2 separate regions of the Homo sapiens genome follow, and region 1 is linked to region 2. Evidence: promoter capture Hi-C in 16 types of primary human blood cells and fetal thymus (Javierre and others, 2016). All regions are on one chromosome and are shown on one strand. The core of a region is centred on a gene start or on the middle of the fragment in contact, and the rest is flanking DNA. Distances in the headings are between cores, read along the strand shown. Region 1 overlaps ATPAF1 (ATP synthase mitochondrial F1 complex assembly factor 1). Region 2 holds the start of EFCAB14 (EF-hand calcium binding domain 14).

Region 1 (6,773 bases), core at 1,624-4,123, 88 kb before region 2:
TGATCTCCTGACCTCGTGATCTGCCTGCCTCGGCCTCCCAAAGTGCTGGGATTACAGGCGTAAGCCACCAACCCAACCAGGTCTTTTTTAATGTTAAGGTTTGGCAAGGCAAGACAAGAACTTGAAAGTGCCAGCCTGGTACTTAAAATAATTGTTTTGCTCCAAAAGTTTGTTCACATCATCATCTCTCAGTTCTTTCTGCTTACAAACCCTGGACCTGACTGCCTTCTCTGTTGGTCCCTTGGCTTGGTTTTCCATATGCAGCCTCTGCAATAAGAGCAAGCAAAATGACCACTGTCTTGGGCTGGGACATAACCACAATGTGTTTGCCAGAGCTGGATCTCACTGTGCAAGCGATGTTTGTAGGCTCAGGTGGTCTGAGTTTAGTGGTCACTCAAACGGAGTTTGTTCAGCATCCACAGAGTATCTTATCCCTCTGCCGGGTTTCGTGCTGGACACTTGGAATATAATGTCCAGTAAGATATGATCCCAGTCTCCAAGGGCTATTCATTCTGGTGGGGAAGCCAGCCTTGCAGGGGGGCCATGTGGAGGGGAATAGGTCTCAGGGAAGGCTTCTCATAGGGATACTACAGTGAAGCTTTGAATTAACTTAAGGAGGAATGGGCATTTGAAGCAGGCAAATGTATTAGAAAAGAGCAGAACAGAGGTAGGAAGAGCACAATGTGTTTAGGGAACTGCAAGTTATCCAGAATGGCTGGAGCCAAAGGAGTAGGTAGGAGAGGCACAAAATGAGCCTGGAAAAGACACCATGCACTGGATCCTGAAGCTCCTGTGAGCTGATCTAAAAGGACTTTGTCCAGAAAGCCCTAGGGAACCTGTAATGATTCTTAAGTGGTTTGAACCAATTTTTCTTGTAGATATTCCAGTTCCTAAAGCCTGAAGAGCGTAGAAGTAGCCCTGTTCAAGTGAATGTGAAGAATGAGCCTGCTCAGTGGACATTACAAATGATCCTATTAAGTGTGGAGCATGGACACACTTATTATTATTCCTGGGTTGGCTCCTGATGCAGACAGCAACCTTGAAGTCATCTCTTCCCTTTCTGTGCTCCTACTCTCCCTTTTAGCAGAACAAGGATAAAGATGTTGTTATCAACCTGTCACATCAGAAGAATTGACAAGACCAAAGTTCTCCGAAGGAAGTCTTCCCTAGTTAGAACATGATGTCTTGCAAAATTGTCTGGAGGAATCAGAGGTATATAATGCATGCATTTTGTTCTTTAGTTACCAGCAAGAAAATTGGGAGACATGTTTCTCAGGGCTGGTTCCAGAGCCAACCATGACTTACTTTTTTTTTTTTTTTTTTTTGAGACAGGGTCTCATTCTGTCACCCAGGCTGGAGTGCAGTGGCACAATCTGGGCTCACAGCAACCTCCACCTCCCAGGTTCAAGTGATTCTCGTACCTCAGCCTGAGTAGCTGGGATTACAGGTGTGTGCCACCACATCCAGCTAATTTTTGTATTTTTAGTAGAGAGGGGGTTTCGTTATGTTGAGCAGGCTGGTCTCTAACTCCTGGTCTCAAGCGATCGGCCCACCTTGGCCTCCCAAAGTGTTGGGATTACAGGCATGAGCCACTGTGCCTGGCTGGTTGCTCTCTTTTCTGAGCTGGAGTTGGGGCATGAGGGTACAAGGAGAGAGCAGCACATGTCACTGACCAGCAGGTTCCTGCCAACCTCATAGGGTTGGTAGGATTGAGATAATCCATGTAAGGGCTTAGCACAGTGCCTGGTATATGGTTAGCCCTTAGTAAATGTTAGTGGTTATTGTTAATGTGTATATAGTCAAGTGTTGCTTAACAATGGAGACTACATTGAGAAATGTATCATTAGGTGATTTGGTTGTTGTGCAAACATCATAGGATGTATTTATACAAACCTAGATGGCATATAGCCTATTGCTCCTAGGCTGCAAACCTGTACAGCATGTTACTGTGCTGAATACTGTGGACACTGTAATATAAGGGTAAATACTTATCTATCGTATCTAAACATAGAAAAGGTACAGTAAAAATACAGTATAAGATAAAAAATGATATTGCTGTATAGGACACTTACAATGAATGGAGCCTGCAGGACTGGAAGTTGTTCTGGATGAGTCAGTGAGTGAGTTCTGAGTGAATATGAAGACTGAGGAGGACATTACTGTACACTACAGTAGGCTTTATAAACACTGTACACTAAATTTATAAAAATATTTTTCTTTTTTCAATAACCTTAGCTTACTATAACTTTTTAACTTTATAAACTTTTTAATTTTTAAAACTTTTGACTATTTTATAATTGCACTTAGCTTAAAACACACTGTATAGCTGTATAAAATATTTTCTATCTTTATTCTGTAAGCTTTTTTCTTTAAAAAATTTTATTTTTTACTTTTTAAATGTTTTGGTTAAAAGCTAAGACACAAACATGTACATTAGCCTAGGCCTACACAGGGTCAGGATCATCAACATTACTGACTTCCACCTGCACATCTTGTCCCACTGGAAGGTCTTCAGGGGCAATAACACACATGGAGCTGTCCTCTCCTATAAGAACAATGCCCTCTTCTGGAACAACTCCTGAGAGACCTGCCTGAGGCTGTTTTACAATTGACTTAGTATTTTTTATACGTAGAAGGAGCACACTCTAAATAATACAGTAAATACATAAACCAGTAATAGTCATTTACTATCAAGCATTATGTACTGTACATAGTTTTATGCACTATACCTTTTTATTTTTTGAGATAGGGTCTTGCTCTGTGGCCCAGGCCGGAGTGCAGCAGTGTGATCCCAGCTCACTGTAGCCTCAACCTCCCGGGCTCAAGTGATCCTCCCACCTTAGCCTCCTGAGTAGCTGGGACTACAGGCGTGCACCACCACGCTCAGTTAATTTTTAAATTTTTTTTGTAGAGACAAGGTCTCGCTATGCTGTCCAGGCTGGTTTTGAACTTCTAAACTCAAGGGATCCACCTGCCTCGGCCTTCCAAAGTGCTGGGATTACAGGCGTGAGCCACCGTACCCGGCCCCTGTACACTATACTTTTATACCCTATACCCCTATACACTATGCTGGTGTAGTAGATTTACACCAGCATCACCACAAACACATAATGCATTGTGCTATAACATTACCACAGCTATGATGTCACTAGGCAATAGGAATTTTTCAGCTCCATTATAATCTTATGGGACCACAGTTGCATATGCAATCTAACGTGACCAAAACATTGTTATGTAGTACGTGACTGTAGCTTGGGAGGCCAGCACTGAACCCACAGTACCTCTTGTCTATTGCAAGAAACATATAGCCTTTGAGACTTTAACACTGTCTACCTGTTATTCCCCATTAAGCCATAAGTGCTTCATGGGTGGGTACCAGAGCCTGGCAAGCTTTGCATCCTCCATAGCATGCGGGGGGAGTTCCTTAACTCTCTTTGCCCCTTCTGAGACGGCATTGATCAGTTTGTCTTGTATTGTAATCATTCATGTCAGGTCATGCCGCTGAACTGTAGGCTCCTAAAGGGTAGATACTGAATCTTTATATTTGTCCAGAAACAAGCATTCCTAGCTTGGCTCTGCTCCGGGGCGTTAACACTTGCTGTTCTCTTTACCTGGTTCTCTTTCCCCAGCTCATGTATCAGCTGCCACTGCTGCAGAGATGCCTCTCCTGACCATTAAGTTATTGCCTCCACTCCATAGTCTAAAATATTATTTTTAAATTTTCATAGCACTACCAGTATGTAAAATAATTTTATTGATTTACTTGTCTTCTTTACAAGAATATAAACTACATGAGAACAGGAGCCTTATTTGCCATGTTCATTGCTATATTATCCAGTTTTTTATAACAGTGCTTGGCAAAAAGGTGCTCAATAAGTGTGAATGAATGCTGACTCAATGCCAAATCAAATGACTAGGAAGTGGGCATTAGTACCTCTTCTCCAAGACTGAACAAAAGGTCAGTATGGAGAGTGCAAAGCAAAACATGTGGCTCCAGCTTCCAAACTGGTTGGAGAAGAAAGAAGTACCAGTATGAACATCCAAGAACTAGACAAAGCAAACTATAATCAGGTGTAGGTGTGAGGCACTGAATCAGAGGCAAGAGAGAAACAGGCAGTGGCTAAAACAGAGCCTGCGAGCAGGAATCATACTCTACTCATCTTTCTGTGTCCAGCACTTAACATAGTGGCTGCAGAATAGATGCTCTGTGAGCAGCTGTTAAGTTGTACTGTGTAATGGTCCACCAAGGTAATGCCAGTGGATTAGGTGAGGTACAGAGAACTGTGTATAACTTGGTATCTTGGTTTGCAAATATTTCTACTCAACAAATTCTCGATCTATGTGTATTAAGAGATTCTTTTAAATCTAGAGTATTTACATGCAGGTACATACACAAGACAATGTTTTGGTTGAAATCCATATTACCTATTTATTCAACAAAAAACTGAGTATCTTCTATGGTCCAGGCCATGTCCTTGGCACTGCGAACAGAGATAAGTCCTGGCCCTCAAGGAGCTCACAGTCTAGTGGGGGAAAAAAGACACAAGAATAAATAAATATAATGTATTTGGAGTTTGCAAAGGGGGCCACTATGGGAGACAAAGAACAGAGGAACCTAAATATCCTATAGTTAGCATCCACAGGAAAGAAAGACCTGGCAATGTACATTTTTGTAAAGAATAGATAAGGCAGTGGTTCTCAAAGTGTGGCTGGCTAATTACCTACATCAGAATCATTTGGAGCACATATTAACAAGTAGATTCCCAGTACCTTCTGCACATATTCTTGATTTAGTACGTGTGTGGGGGGGTGGTGTACGGTTGAGGCCTGAGAATCTGCATTTTAAAAGCACTTTAGGTGATGCTACTGCATCTTAAAGTTTCAGAACTGATGAGATAAAGTTTGTTCTTTTAACTGGAATAAAGAATGATCTACACATCTGAAATGCTAACTTGTATTAGTCTTTAATGAGGGGCAAGGGAAGTAGAGAAAAGGATGGTAGTTGATATTTTCTACTATAGTGAAGTTAATTTAATTCTCACAATAATCCTATGAGGTAGATATTATTATCCCTATTTTAGATGGAAAAAAAACCCCAAAATTAGATAGTTTAAGCAATTTGTTCAACAGTATAGAGCTAATGAATAGCAACACTAACATATGAACCCAGATTCACTTAACTCTAAAGCCTGTCCACTTTCTATAACACCATGCTAGCACCAGGGGACAAATTTACTGATTAAATGGTACAATTTTCTTTGAGTTCTTTGCCAGATCTTTCTAGGTAAATAAATATAAAGAACAGCTACGTGGTACTTTAGTCATGCCCCACACATTTATCCATGGACACATCCTACTTGGCAGTTGGGGACTGAGGACAAATCCAGGAGGAATGATTAAAACGAATGGCCACTTCTTACTCCTTTTTCCATCATTTCCTCACCCGCTGGTGGAGGTGTATCAATGTACTATGTATGGCTAATAACTGGGCCCATCTGGAAAGACAAGCAAACATAACTGGATACCAATAAAAACAACCCCATCTGATGTCAAAAATTCTTGGGACCCAAAACATTCAGAAGGTCAGAAGGCATTTAATGAAAATGGCAGGGCAGATAAGACTCAAGTTTCTCAAAAGATAAACTGCCAGGACCAGAAGCAGGTCCAGAATTTACATTAGTTAACAGCTCAACCTTTAGAGAAATAGTGAAAGGATAGCAGCTTCCCCAGTTTAAAAAAATACTATCTGTCTCTCTCAATACATAGACTCAAAGGTGCAACAAAATAGACACGGCTCAGAGAATAGTGGGATGTCCACCCTATTTAAAGAGCTTAGGGACAGGCCCAACCTATAAAAATTCTTCTGGAAGGAAGAAAACACACACACACAAACTGCGAATACTGCTTAAATTCCCACTCACCACATTCAGTGTCATATAACCAGATCTTAGGCAGGAGCAGCAGAGTGGAGCATGTTAGATCAATAAAGAAATGTCAGGCCAGGCACGGTGGCTCACACCTGTAATCCCAGCACTTTGGGAGGCCAAGGTGGTGGATCACTTGAGGCCAGGAGTTCGAGACCAGCCAGCCTGGCCAACAAAGTGAAACCCTGTCTCTACAACAATACAAAAATAAGCCAGGTATGGTGGCATGCGCCTGTAATCCTAGCTCCTCAGGAGGCTGACGCAGCAGAATCACTTGAACCAGGGAGGTAGAGGTTGCAGCGAGCTGAGATCACGCTACTGTACTCCAGCCTGGGCAAGACAGAGCAAGACTTCATCTCAGGAAAAAAAGAAAGAGAAAGAAATGCCATGGTAAAGGCAGCTGACAACAATACTGGGGGCCTTGGGTTCAGAAGGCTGGTGTGTAACCACCGTCCTTTCCTATCACTGAGCTTGGAGCCACAACAGTGACACTACAAACGAAAGATGGGTTTCCAGCTCTGGAGAACAACTTTCTTATTTCTGGCATTCCAAACAATTTTTCAGTCCCAAGATGAGTTTTGATAAAATCAGCCCATAGCCCTGACACAATGGACAGTACATAACTCAGATTTCATTATTTTGTATAACAAACATTGTAAGCCAGACTTAAAAAAAAAATTATTGCTATATTTTCCCCACATCCAATCTGGGAACATTTGCTTTCATCCACTTTTTCGTATCATGTTTAGAGTTGTTTTTAAAAAAATCATGCAAACCAGGATTAATCTTCTCCTTACAAAAGAATTTTATTTATACTGCACTGATTCATTCCTTCAAACACATAGCTTC
Region 2 (7,044 bases), core at 3,391-5,890:
TATTATGCAAACATACCTTTTGGAAAAAGTAATTTGGGCCGAGCACAATGGCTCAAAGTTGTAATTCCAGCACTTCGGGAGGCTGAGGCAGGCAGATCACTTGAGCCCAGGAGTTCGAGACCAGTCTGGGCAACATAGCAAAACCCTGTCTTTTACAAACATACAAAAATTAGCAGAGGGTGGCGCGTGCCTGTAGTTTCAGCTATTGGGATTGGGGGTGTGGGGTGCTGACACGGGAAGACTGCTTGAGCCCATGAAGTCAAGGCTGCAACGAGCCAGATGCCACTGCACTCCAGCTTGGGTGACAGAGCAAGCAAGACCTTATCTCAAAAAAAAAAAAAAACAAGAAAGAAAAAGAAATGAAAAAGTAATTTGGATGTGTAAAATATAACTTTACAATTTAGAATATACAAAACTCTGTGACTTCAAAACCTCCTTAAACTTTAAAACTCACTCATGAGATAAACATTTCTGACAGTTGCACAGTGTTCAAAGTAGGTATGGTTGTTGTAAGCCCTTCACGAGTATGTAACTTAGTTCAAGTTTCCTAAAACTTTAAAATGATAACACTCATTAATGGTATTTAAATGTTTTTTTCTTGAAAGAGATCGTGTTACTAGTATAAGCACAGCTAAGGAGAGAAATCTATCAGTCCTTGCTCTAAGCTTGAAAACTGATAAGTATGCAGAAAACCAGTTCTTCCTGTTTCTTCTACTAAACTTCTTTTAGATTACTGACCAAGTTGATATCAAAGAGATCTGTAGGCACTTGAAGAAATGTGCATAGGCTTACAAGGCCACCAGGAACAGTGGTGCAGACAGTAGTGTTATAAATGTGAATTTGGGCAGCAAGGGGCAAGAGGACGCTCAGCTCTGTCATACTTAATCACTGAACAAATTACTTAATCCTTCTAAGAGCACAAAATAATAAAAATAATACCCATCTCACCGGATTATTTTGTAAAGAAAATGATTTGAGACTTGGCACAGAGTAGGCCTTCCACAAATGTTAGCTACTCTTATTATTGCCCATTCCTATGCTCCTATTCAGTCCTTCTAAAGAGGCAATCGTTTGACAGATGCTCCCACATTCTTTCTCAAATGGCCCTGTGAGGTGGAAGGAATAGCCCAGTGTTGTCATTGCCACTTTATGCTTGGGGAGATGCAAGCCATAAGTAGAGGTTACACCAAGTTCTAGACTCCTACCCCTAGGGTAGGAGTCTCTTGCCTTTTGCACGCTAAGCATTGACTGCAATGCCATTATTTCAGATGCTACTTGTCCTGCTGGTGCATAAGCACTGCCTTTTATTTGTGAGTTTAAAAACAAATAAGTGTTACAACATTCAAGCAGAGAGCTCAAAAAGAGTATAAAAATACTGAGAGGAACGTATAATTGCTTCACTAGAATGGGCAAAAATCTTCGTTCAGCAGGGTTGACTTTGTCCCAGAACCTGGAAAGGAGTCCAGGATTACACCCTGAAAAGAGTGACCACTGCTGGGTGTGGTGGCTCACGCCTGTAATCCTGGCACTTTGGGAGGCCGAGGTAGGTGGACCACCTGAGGTCAGTAGTTTGAGACCAGCCTGGCCAACATGGTGAAACCCCGTCTCTACTAAAAAGACAAAAAAATTAGCTGGGTGTGGTGGCACACACCTGTAATCCCAGTTACTCAGAAGGCTGACCATGAGAATCACTTGAACCTGGGTGGCGGATGTTGCAGTGAGCCGAGATTGCGCCACTGTACTCCAGCCTAGGCGACAGAGCAAGACCCTGTCTCAAAAAAAAAAAAAAAAAAAAAAAAAAGAGAGTAACCACTTACTTACTTGTTCGAAATTTTTCCTTGAGGGCATCCAGATCCTCCTTGAGAGCAACCTGCATCCACACCAAGCCAACACAGGCCACAACACAGGCAGCAAGGATGACAAAACCACAGAGCGGATAACAGATCTTGCAGCATCGTAAATAGTCTCCCCTGCTCAAGAGGACAAATTCAACCATGAGTACAAAAGTGATTATGGGTATAGCTTTATTAGCAATAGTACACGTTTTGCCATGCAATTATCTCCTTTAAATGAATAACCAGTGAATTAACCAGGGGAGGCAGGGTAAAGCACTTAAATGAATAAATAATATGACCTATTAAGGGTTCATCTACTGGATACAAAGGTTTCAAATGTCACATAAAACAGAAGGAGTTCCTGCAGGTAAAAGGAAGAACCTAAAGGCACTGCAGCTGTCATTATCAGGAGGGAGGTCTTTGAATACAAGCTCAGGTCACAAAAGTGTAAAGACCAATGTTTCTCTGCAATTCCATCTCTGCACTGGAATTTGCCTATTGATTTCTCTCTGAAATACATACTCACTCCGGGGAACCTTGCTCCAGTTTACTGAAACTTTATAAACTTTTGAGCAAGTTTTACTGCAAAAGAAATGAAAGAAACAGGATCTGTAGTTTTAAGTGGACACCTGGTGTATTCTAGCTTATTGGCTCAGAAGTAAGGAAACATAGAAGGGGCTGGATTTCACACAAAACATCAACCAACCTTCAAGGTCTAAACTAACTTAGTAGGGTTACTACTCCAGGTACCTTCTGATGAAGGTAACACTTCAACTGATCTTCATAACCCAAACCCAGGATTGCCCTTAACAGCCTTAGCTGACAAAGCTCATTAGAAATCAAACTCTTCCTTTAACAAAACAAGACATTTTAAACCAACCAACCACTCAATGTCAGCACCCCGACCTTCTGCCTAGCCATTGTTTCTACATCCTCAGCAGAATCCTCTTTTCTTTTAGTGTGCTCTGAGAGAGTCAAAGGACGTTTTTGAAGTTCCCTTTAGTCCTTTCCCATCCTGAGCCCCAATCCCAATGTCCTCAAATCTTACTACTTGATTTGCCTAGTGGTCTCTCCACCTATGAATGGCTAGGGAAAATGATGCCTCTTCTTTTGCCCCCCGACCCCACCTACTCTCAAGGCTCATACTTCCTACAGTATATCTCTCACCATATTTCCCCACCACCAATATTCAGACTCATCAAGAGTGCAAAAACGAAATAATCTGCAGTCTTAAAGTCTCTGCTTCTCCTTTGTTCTACACTGTTTTAAAAAGTCTAGTCCCCAAAGCTTCTCTGCTCCTCTGTCTCCATTCTTTGCTTCTTTAGGACTCCCTGGGCTCTTGGCACATTCTCCAAGTCCACATTTCCACCTCAGATTTGGAGCTTTTCTTTCTACACCTAAAGACAGATCTCTAACTTATTCTTCATTCAGGATCTGAACTTACCTTCTCCCTAAAACCGTTTTTCCCTCTTTGACTTCCAAGGCCTACACCCTTTTTTCTTCCTAAGGACTTCCTTTCTCCTTCCTGTCAATGTGGCCCCTTGGTAGTGCAAGGAGATGCCTTCTTCCCATTCCACCTTTCACCACTACTCACTTGGCAAAGCGAGAGCGATTTCCAACCACACCGAATTCCTCTTCCTCTTCGGAGCTGGACTCAGAGTCTGAGTCGGGAGGCTCAGTGCGAAGCAGGCGGTGACTGCTTGGGCCTTTCTTGGGCTTCTTTCTCCGGCTGTCCCCAGCCAAACCAATCAATGCATTGAGCTCTTTGCGCTTTTTCATCTTTTTGTGTGGGGTGAGTGGAGCCCCGACTCCTGAGCTGCCAGGTTCGTACCCGATGCCCAATTCTCTTCCTGCCTTGGAGCTGCCTTCCAGGGTTGGGAATCCTGGGCCAGAGCCCCCTGGTCACTCCCACCTAGGGGTGGGACTGACCAGATCCGCCAGGGACTGGAGATTGGAGCCCAGAGGAAACTGGAACTCAGATGGGTGGGGGAAATCACATAGAAATGGCCAAGGAGCTGGTGACCCCAAAGGATAAGGCCTTGGGTGCAGAGTGTTAGTAGAGGGTGGAGAGGGACCTTTATCTCCCAAAGGGCGAAAAAAAAGCCAGGTCAAAAATGAAGGATTCTCAGCCCGGATAAGTAGGCAATACTTCTAAGGGTGCTCCAGGAGGTGAGGAAGGGCACGCTTAAAATACGTGTTTCGGACCTCCGGAGCAAGATTTCCAATGGAGAGGGAAGAGAAACTCGTTCTTGAATGGGAAGAGAGTGGGGAGGTGCAGAGTAAGAAAGTGGGAACGCGTCAGTCCCTTCCTTGCAGGAGAGGTGGCGGCAGGAGGGGGCTCCCAGCAGCTACAATCCCAACACTGCTTGGCCGCAGAGAAAATGCCCTGGCCAGGAAGCCGGCTGGGGTGTGTGATGATCACCGTTCTCCGGCCTCCGTCCTGAACGTGAAGGGGGCCCGAGGCCGAGGAAGATCCGGAGCCCGGCTAGAAGGGTCGGCCTGAGAGAAGCCAGTCCCGCGCCTGATAGACCCCCGCCCCGCTGTCTGGGCCTTGGGGACACGGTGCCGCGGGCGACGGCGGCTCGGCCGACCGAAAGCGCTCCCGCCCGGAGTTTGAGGTCTCCGGCACGGGCAACTCTCGGCCACTCACACGCGCAGGCCCCACTCCAGCCGCGACTCCGGCCCCTGCTCCGGCTTCGGCCGCGGCTGCTCCCGACACGTTGTTGTTGGCGTTGGTGGCGGCGGCTGCGGCGGCGGCGGCCGCGAGCTCCAGCCCCGGGCCATCGCTCCAGCCCCAGATCACTTCCCCTTTGGCAGCGGCCGCCTGCGCCGCCTGCCAGTAAGCCGCACTCCCATTGGTCGCCCGCTGGGGTGACGTCACGCCGGGGCGAAAGTCGTGGCGGAGAGGTGGGGCGTTAAAGGGGCCCTGCCCCGGCTGGGGCTGGGTCCCACCTGCCGATTAGGGTGGCCCCGCCCCCAGGAGGGCTTCCGGGACCTGCTGCGAACCTGAGCCGGGTGGAGTCCTGCATCCTGCGGAGCGCGGGCGGGGCAGGCAAAGCGCCCGGCTGCTCGACCTACTTCGAAAGTTCATCAGCCGCCCACGCCCCCTGGACTAACCAAGTCTGAAGGCTCCGCCTCTCTGACTCTCACACAGGCTGTTAAAAGTTTAGGCGCGTTTCAGATTAATTAACACATTCATTCAGTCAATAAATATTTATTGAGAGCTTACTTACTACGTGTCAGGAGCTGTTCTAGCGCTGGGGATACAGCCATGAACAAAATAACCAGGGTCCTTGTCTTCCTGTATAGTGTTGCCAGATTTAGCAAATAAAAATGTAGGACACCCAGTAAAGTTTGAATTTCAGAGAAACAGCAAACAATTTTTTAGCATTAAGACATCCCATGCAACATCTGGGACATCCTCACACTAAAAAATTATTCATTGTGTATGTGAAATGCAAGTTTAACTGAGCATCGTGTATCTTATCTGCCAATCTATTCCTGCAGTTTATTTATACTCTAGAGGGAGGAGAGCAACAATAGGCAAACATATTAAATGTCAGGAGGTGATAAGTGTTATGATGAAAATTGAAACACGGTCAGGTGATGGGGAGTGCCTCTGTGAAAAGGGAACATTTAGTCAGCTTATCGGAGGAGAGGTGAGGGAATGAGCTGTGCAGTGGCTGCAGGAAGGAGTGACCAGGAAGACCTGTTGTGGCTGGACCAGAAGAGCAAGGAGCAGAGTGATAGGAAATGAGGTCAGAGAAGCATCAGAGGCCAGGGCTTTAGGGCCTTATGGATCACTGAAAGGACTTTGGGAAAGCACTGGGGGCTTTAAGCTGAGAGGTAGCATACTCTGGCTTTTCCGTAAAAAAAAAAAAAAAAAAAAAAATTCACTCTGGGCCAGCGCGATGGCTCACGCCTGTAATCCCAGCATTTTGGGAGGCTGAGGTGGGCGGATCACAAGGTCAGGAGATGGAGACCATCCTGGCCAATATGGTGAAACCTTGTCTCTATTAAAAATACAAAAATTACCTGGGCGTGGTGGTGCGCGCTTGTAATCCCAGCTACTTGGGAGGCTGAGGCAAGAGAATGGCTTGAAACCGGGAGGCGGAGGTTGCAACAAGCCGAGATTGCACCACTGCACTTCAGTCTGGCAACAGAGCGAGACTCCGTCTCAAAAATAAATAAATAAATAAATAAATAAATAAATAAATAAATAAATAAATAAATAAAATAAAATAAAATAAAGGAAAAAATTACTCTGGCTACTTTGTAGAAAAAAGTGGGGGGAGAGTGAGGAACACAGGAGAGCAGTTTGTTACAGTCCAGCTAGAGATGATGCTGATAGATTAGAGAGGCAGTAGCAGAGATGGAGAGCATTCTGGATGTTTCTTGAAGACAGAGCTGACAATTTTTGCTGATAGATTAGATGAAAGGTGTGAAGAGAAGAGAGGGTTTGGCGGTGGAAACACTGGAAGCAAGGAATTGTTATTTATTGAGATGGGGTAGAGCAAGTTTGGGACAAGTTTGACAAGCCAATTCAATATTCAAATGGAGGCTGTTTGGTATACCCATTGAGAGTTCTCTGGGCACAGGTTGGGGCCTGAAATATCAATTGGGAAGTCATCAGATATAAATGGAATTTAAAGCAAAGTGCTTTGAGCTACTTGGAAGAAAGTCACTTAAAGTAATTTTTATGCCCATATTCTTACTGTGGCAATTACGCTGCTTTTGTCCAAGGATTCTCGCAAAGCCTGGGCCTGTATCTGATTTGTTTTTAAGTGTCTAGCCCAGAAGTGTACTCCTAAATAACGATGACCCAATAAATATGTGATGACTACATAAGTGGGCAGTGTTGCAAAGAGGTATGAGTGGACTTTTGGAATCAAAATCAAGAAACCTGGGACTCAATCATGTCTCTACTTCTTCCTGGCTCCATCAGCATGGAAGCCGTTTAGTTTCTCTGAGCTTCAGTTTTCTCCTCTGTAAAATGGGGATAAACACCTATTTCACAGGACAATGAGATGAATGTGAAAGTGTTTTTGAAGCCCCAAGTCATGGTGTATTGTCCCCTTTTGTTTCTAGAGCTTCATTGCCCAATACAGTAGCCAAACTGGCCACATATAACAATTTAAATCTACATTTAACATAATTAAAACAAAATACAAATTTTAAATTGGTTCTTCAGTATCATTGGCCACAGTGT

What was found. Contacts are between HindIII fragments. The CHiCAGO score rates a contact against its expected background, and 5 or more counts as called.
Region 1: a fragment that was not itself captured here is called in contact with the fragment with the promoter of EFCAB14 in region 2 in 2 of 17 cell types (megakaryocytes and erythroblasts); the score reaches 6.0 in megakaryocytes.

What each region holds. Positions count from the first base shown.
Region 1 is chr1:46,628,334-46,635,106 of GRCh38, forward strand. ATPAF1 (ATP synthase mitochondrial F1 complex assembly factor 1) reads right to left here. Exons shown (of 9, transcript NM_001394565.1): 9 at 4,404-6,773. Among named protein-coding and RNA genes, the nearest start is that of MOB3C, 15 kb to the left of the region's middle. The HindIII fragment of the contact is 1,030 bases long and covers 2,359-3,388 here.
Region 2 is chr1:46,714,474-46,721,517 of GRCh38, forward strand. EFCAB14 (EF-hand calcium binding domain 14) reads right to left here and starts at 4,641. Exons shown (of 11, transcript NM_014774.3): 1 at 3,430-4,641; 2 at 1,822-1,970. The coding sequence starts at 3,614. RefSeq lists silencers at 4,446-4,495, 4,816-4,865. The HindIII fragment of the contact is 11,051 bases long and covers 3,121-7,044 here.